Linked DNA regions of Homo sapiens: region 1 is linked to region 2. The links are contacts of gene promoters, found by promoter capture Hi-C in blood cells and fetal thymus (Javierre and others, 2016). All regions are on one chromosome and are shown on one strand. The core of a region is centred on a gene start or on the middle of the fragment in contact, and the rest is flanking DNA. Distances in the headings are between cores, read along the strand shown. Region 1 has its middle 52 kb from the start of SNAI2. Region 2 holds the start of PXDNL (peroxidasin like).

Evidence for each region. The method cuts DNA at HindIII sites, captures the fragments that hold promoters and counts their contacts. A CHiCAGO score of 5 or more calls a contact.
Region 1: a contact is called between a fragment that was not itself captured here and the fragment with the promoter of PXDNL in region 2, in 1 of 17 cell types (total B cells). The highest score is 9.4, in total B cells.

Annotation. Positions count from the first base shown.
Region 1 is chr8:48,972,263-48,975,349 of GRCh38, forward strand. No RefSeq gene overlaps it. Among named protein-coding and RNA genes, the nearest start is that of SNAI2, 52 kb to the left of the region's middle. The HindIII fragment of the contact is 3,028 bases long and covers 293-3,087 here.
Region 2 is chr8:51,807,352-51,810,845 of GRCh38, forward strand. It overlaps PXDNL (peroxidasin like), which reads right to left and starts at 2,094. Exons shown (of 23, transcript NM_144651.5): 1 at 1,830-2,094. The coding sequence starts at 1,993. RefSeq lists enhancers at 1,467-1,989, 1,990-2,511. The HindIII fragment of the contact is 1,936 bases long and covers 304-2,239 here.

The DNA.
Region 1 (3,087 bases), core at 557-3,056, 2.8 Mb before region 2:
TCACTGTAGATGTTTCCTTAGTGTGTGAAAAACTACAGCACATTTTTTAAAAAATGCATTTGATTCTCAGAAAGGTTAAAGTCTTTGTTTTCATATTTAAATTACTAGAACTATTTATCATTAATGAAATGTCTGTGTATGTCCTTTGCCTATAGATTTATTGGGACTATCATTGCTTATTGACATATATGAGCCCTTTATAAAAAAAATTAATACTTTTTAGATAATAATCTTTTTGAGATCTGCAATGGGTTTCATGATTAAATGTACGTACATGGTTTGGCCCTTTTTAAGCTTGGATTCAAATGTTAGTCTAATTTATTATTGTTGTTGTTGTGTGCAGTACATTCTCATGAATATATTTTTTAAATTTTCACTATTGGCTCTGAAGAAGGTTTGAAAGCCCTTTGTCACAGGGTTGTTTTTAACGTTTGAATTAACTGTTAAACTGAGCAAAGATGTATTGACTATCTACTCTGTGGCTGTCCCTAGAGGCCCCTCACTCTCCCCGTCCAATACTCTCTTGATGCTGTCTACTTTTCTCTCCCTGCACATTCCTTCCAAGCCATATTCCTAAGTCCCAAGCCTTCATGGGCTGTCTCTCTGGTGTTGGCCACAAACCAGAACCTCTGCTCTCATTTCTTCCCCAGTGTCAGACCCAGGCATGCAGTGTACTCTGTGCCTTGGAAGTCCCGCACATACACCCACGCTGAATCGATCCTGTTGTCTTCTGCCCCCTTTAGTGCTACCTGTCCCCTTTCTGCGCTGATAGCACTTCGCTGGTTTTTCAAGTGAGAAGCCTCACTTACACCTCCCTCCCCCTCATTCCCCATCCAGTCACCAGACCTGTGGTTTTTCTTCCTGCACCTGTGTCTCCCTATGCCCTCCGCCCTGCTCTAGGTCAGGCCACTGTCCACCTTTACTGGGGATATTGAGAACCTCTCAGTTGGTCTCACTACTTTCAGTATTCCCCTCTTTTAACCCCTTTCCTGATAATATAGAGAAAAATATCCTTCAAAAAAATGTACGAATCGTTAAGTCGCTGTTTCGTAAAATGCATCAAACATTTCCATTACTTTTAGGATGAATCCCCACATCCCAGGGTGCTGCTAAAGGCCCCGTGTTCACACCATACTTCCCTCTCACATAGCTTCAACCAAAACCCCTGTCTTCATCTGTGATACAGACAGATTGAGCAGTTCCATAAATTAACTCCTTGAGTTTGTCCTGCTCTCTCTTGCCTTTGGATTATTTCCTGTGATGTTTTTCTACCTGGACTATCCCTCCCATCTGTTCATTCCCCTAGTCTATGTTCACCTGGCTAATGCATACTCTGTACTGAATTTCAGCTTAGATATTCCTTCTGTGGGCTGTCTTTTCCTAGCCCATAGCTGTACTTGTCACTGCTTTACTTATTTTCCCCCATCACTAGATCAGAGACCCTTGGCAACAGAAACAGTGTTGTTCTGTCCTTACATGCCCAGTGGCTAGCCAATGTCTGCAACATGGTATGGTCTGAATAAATGCCCATTGATTGAACAATGAATGGGGCTGAAGTGCAATGCAGTGTTCTCACTGGGGGTACTGTCCCAGGAACCCTAACAATAAGAGTGTCCCTGATTTTTTTGTGAGTTGCTTCTTCCTGTACTTCAAGTGTACCATTGAAAGCTGATGTTAACAAAAATCACAAATCGTAGATGCTAATTTAGTAGTTTCAAGTTATAAGTAGTCATGTATAGTGTCCAACAGGAGCACTTTAATACACACTGAGCATCTGACATCTCACCTATGTATCTGTCTTGTGTTAGACTCTGTGAGGATGCAAAGTTAACCAAGATTGGTCCCCTGGGCTCTGTCAAGTCAGTCTCCATTTAGTGGAAAAATGCAAATGATAGGGACTCTACCTGAAGGCAATTTGCTAATATCACTGAGTTCATAAGTGTAGATATGTAGATGCAGATGTGGAGGCTGATGCAAATGCAGATGTAGGGGTAGATGTGGATGCAGATGCAGATGTAGATGCAGAAGAAGAGGTATTCACTGATGCAGATGCGGATGCAGAGGTAGATGTAGATGAGGATGCAGATGCAGAGAGACTCAGATGCAATGCAGATGAAGATTCAGATTTAGATTTAGATGTTGATGCTGAAATGGATGCAGATGTAGATACAAATTTAGATGTAGATGCAGCTGTAGATGTGGATGTGGATGCAGATGCAGACGTAGATGCAGATACAGATGTAGATGTAGACACAGGTCTAAATTTAGAGGCAGATTTAGATTTAGATGTGGATGCGGATGTGGACACGGATGCAGATGTAGACAGGGATGCGGATGTGGAAGTGGCTGTGGATGCAGATGCCACTGTGAATGCAGATGTAGATTATGTAGATGTAGATACAGATTCAGACTGACATTTAGATGTTGATCTGAATGCAGATGCCAATGTAGATGTGGATGTAGATGTAGACGCAGATGTTGATGCAGATTTAGATGCATTTAGATGTAGTTGTAATGTAGATGTAGAGACCGATGCAGATGTAGTGATGTAGATACAGGTGCAGATGCAGAGGCAGGATTAGATTTATTAATTTATTTATTTTTGAGACGCAGCCTCACTCTGTCGCTGGAGTGCAGTGGTGCCATCTCGGCTCACTGCAACTTCTGCCTCCCAGGTTCAAGTGATTCTCCTGCATCAGCATCCCAAGTAGCTAGGATTACAGGTGCCCATTACCACACCCGGCTAATTTTTATATTTTTAATAGAGATGGGGTTTCGCCATGTTAGCCAGGCTGGTCTTGAACTTCTGACCTCTGGTGATCCACTCACCTTGACCTCCCAAAGTGCTGGGATTACAGGCGTGAGCCACAATGGCTGGGCCTCAGATTTAGATTTAGACGTAGATGTGGATGCATATGTAGATATACATGAGGATGCAGATGTGGATGTGGATGCAGATGTAGTTGTAGATATTCATTCTCCAGGCCCTTTATTCTCTGGGTAGTTTCTACATTGTTTGGTCAAGGAAATGGAAGTAATAGTGAAGCAGGCTCACTGTGCACTGGTCATCCACATCTCAGTCTGGTA
Region 2 (3,494 bases), core at 844-3,343:
GATACCTCACTCTCGCCATGACAACACCAAGGGAGGTGGTGTTAAACCATGAGAATCCGCCCCCACTATCCAATCACCTCCCACTGCACCCCACCTCCAACATTGGGAGTTACAATTGAACATGAGATTTGGGTGGGGACACAGATCCAAACCATATCAAACACTGTTAGCATCTCCATTTTTACAGATTAGGAAACTGTGACACCAAGAAGTTAAGAATTTGTCCAAGGCAACACATTTTGTAAGTGGTGGCACCAGACTCCCAGACAGGAATCTAGCCAAGGGCCTGAGAATCCACCATTAAGCTTTATTTTTAAACATAGTGGAAGGCTCTGCATGACAACACTGACAACATCACTTCAGTTCTGCTCATTACATTTAGAGGTGTGTGTCTAATGCAAGCTAATCTCTTCTTTGAAACACCTAGGAAACAAAATTTAGGTCGAGTTGTACCTCATGTAGCTCCAAGATACTTCATTAGACAAGCAGCCCCTTCTCCAAGGCTTTGCTGCTATCTACCAAAAAACTGTCATTACAAAAGGACAAATGGCTGGTTCTGAGTCTGAAGGCACTTGCAGAACTGTGCTGTCCACATAGCAATAAGCAGTGCTCCCAAGTTCAAGAATCCTTTCAGTTATTACAGTAAGACGTATTTTGATATCTGCATGCATATAAAATTAATGAAATGCTTTATAGAAATGAAAATCTATGGATAATATGTCATTTTCTATGTAAATACCATCAAATTGGACTTTTTATTACCAAGTCCTCATTTCACGATTATGACTGACAAATGTGTGGCAATGATCCTCTTAAACATTTATATCTCAAAATTCCAGGAATTTTAAGCTATTTCCCTCTGCCCAAGAATGGACTTGAAACACTGCAAGCAGTTTTGTCTTCCATGAACATGACACAACCCACAAAATATTTATTATAGAGCAGGAAACCTCTTTAGTCTGCATCTTTCAGCATTTTTCCTTTTCTTCTTTTATTTTTTCTTAAATTTTTGAATTTGTCGTCTTTTTCTTTCTTTAAAAATAGACCCTAGAAACAGATCCTTTTCTTCTTTTGTGGTGATTTGCCCTTCTAATTATCTAATTATGACTTAATTTAATCTAAATAAATCTAAATGTTTGGGTTTATTATCTGAATATTAAAGATGAGAAGATAGGATTTGAACTCAGACCTGTTTGACTTCCAAATTCTGGTTTGCCCTACTATCCCGTAATGCCTCCTAGATGCCGATTAGTCTAAGCGGCTGCTCCACAAGGCTTTTAAGCATTCAAGAACTCTACTGGACCATTTGAGGGTCTGTTCTGGAGACAGACAGTGCTTCAAGTGCTGAGGGCTCAGGACTTCACCCTCCCAGGAGGTACACACAGTACAAAGCCTAACAATTTGTCAGCACATAATCAATTGAAACCACACTCTAAAGTTAAATTAGTTCCTTCCAAATGGGGCAGACACGTGCTGACCAATTAAGAGGCCCAAAGACTTGGGAGTAGAGGATGAATAGGAATAAATTGAGAAAGTATGCAGGAAAATTATTGAAGGAAGAATGAAGACGAGAATTCTCAATGCTAAGTTCTGGAAGATGCTGGAAGAGAACTGAATCCAAAACAAATATATTTATGTCAACTCATCATTGCTTACATTTTCTAGTCTAACAGAGCAGAACCATGAAATTGTTTGAAAAGTGAAAAGCCTCTTCTAAGTATACAAGCAGGGAGAGCATTAGGAATCGTAAATTAAAAGGACACAGGTCCTAGCAGAGAAGCAATGAAGCATTGGGGAAGAGGGTTTCTGGGGAATTTATGTGAACTTACAGAACTGTGGTCTGCTGTGGTACCTGAGGAATGTGGTCCAGCATCAAGTGCATGCAGCGGACGGTGCTCTTAAAGCAAAGGCACCGGCTGGGGCAGGGCAACCCTGGCAGGCACCACCCGGCCAGGAGAAAGAGAGTGGTCCAGCAGAACAGTCTGGGCTCCATCGCTCCATTCGCTGCTGGCCACGCGAAGAAGCAGCCGGAGGGAGAGCAGCAGCTGCAGCTGCAGCAGCAACCGCAGTGGTGGTGATGGTGGCTGCTGGACTGAGCCAAGTTTGGGAGCCGTGGTGGAAAGCAGCTCCCAGGGAAAGGACACCCCTCTGACCAATCCAGGAGGAGGGATATCACATTACAGGGCTGAGGGCACAAGCAGCTCTAGGAAGCACTAGACTCCCAGAGGCGAGGACGAGAAGCTTTTCAATGCAAAAGCCTCTTTCTAAAACACCGTGTTTTAGGCAGCATAATGCAAACAAACTTTTCCAAAATTACTTCCACTGCGCATTTGATGAAAAACCCGACCTCTTAGCCTCCAGCTGTCCTCTTGAAGCCCAAGTTGATTAAGAATGTATTGAAACAATGCAGAACAGCTTTTCTTCTTTTTTATCTGGTAACATTACCAAACCCTAAAGGGCAGGCAGAGTTCTAATTCGTTCATCTAGGTGCACATATTCTTTCTTTATTCCAAACTATGCTCTTTAATAAAAATTGTTTCATTTCCTTCTATATATTCTGCTGCTGAAACCCAACACATTTCACTCATGTAAGACTCAAACGGGCTACTTCTGATTTCTTCTTTTAACGTTTAAATTTATATGCTTAAAACCATGAACTCACATACCTCCTTCAAGAGGATACAACTGATGGACAAACCTAAGTATGTATATGTAAAGTCAAACAGATGCAAGCTCCCTCAGGACACACTGGCAGCAGTGGTCTTGCTGGTTGCAGACTTTTCATCAGCAGTTTGAACTGGCCATCTTTCCCTGAAGTGAGCAGCACCTCGTTGAGGACGTGTCTGAAAACTTAATAAATATGAAAACATCTACTTTTTGGTCATTCTGTAAGCAGGTATTTTTAAACAGATTTTTGGCTTTATCTTTAAAGACTAACATTTTCAAACAAAAATGTTTTAAATCCATAAAAGTAATAGAAAACAAATTAAAACTTGCATGGTCAATCCCAGATGATCAGACTAGTAGACCAATCTTAAGAGGAAAATAAGTTCATCCTTGTCTCTGCAGAAATGTTTCAGTCCCTTTACATTCTACTGTAGGCGAATACTGCCCTCTTTTGGCAAAATGTTCATATCTAAATATGTGATTTTGGGGAGATTAAAATGTAAAAAGATCTAAAAAACAAAACTAATCTCCATGAACAAGAATGATTTATTTTAAACTTTACATTTGACATTGTTCACATGACTTTTATTGTCCAAGTATACCAATAAAGCCAAAAAACGAAATTTATTCCTTTAAATCCCAACAATCACTATGCTCTTGGCAGTGCCTGTGATTTGGAGGACATAGACAAGACCTGCAGGTTTGTGCCTTGTTTGCAGTTCAAAATATAAAATACAAAAAATATAAATAATATAAAATATATAAAATACAAAAATATAAAAATATCTTGCATTCATAAAGTAGACTTAAAAAGGGTAGGGACTCAG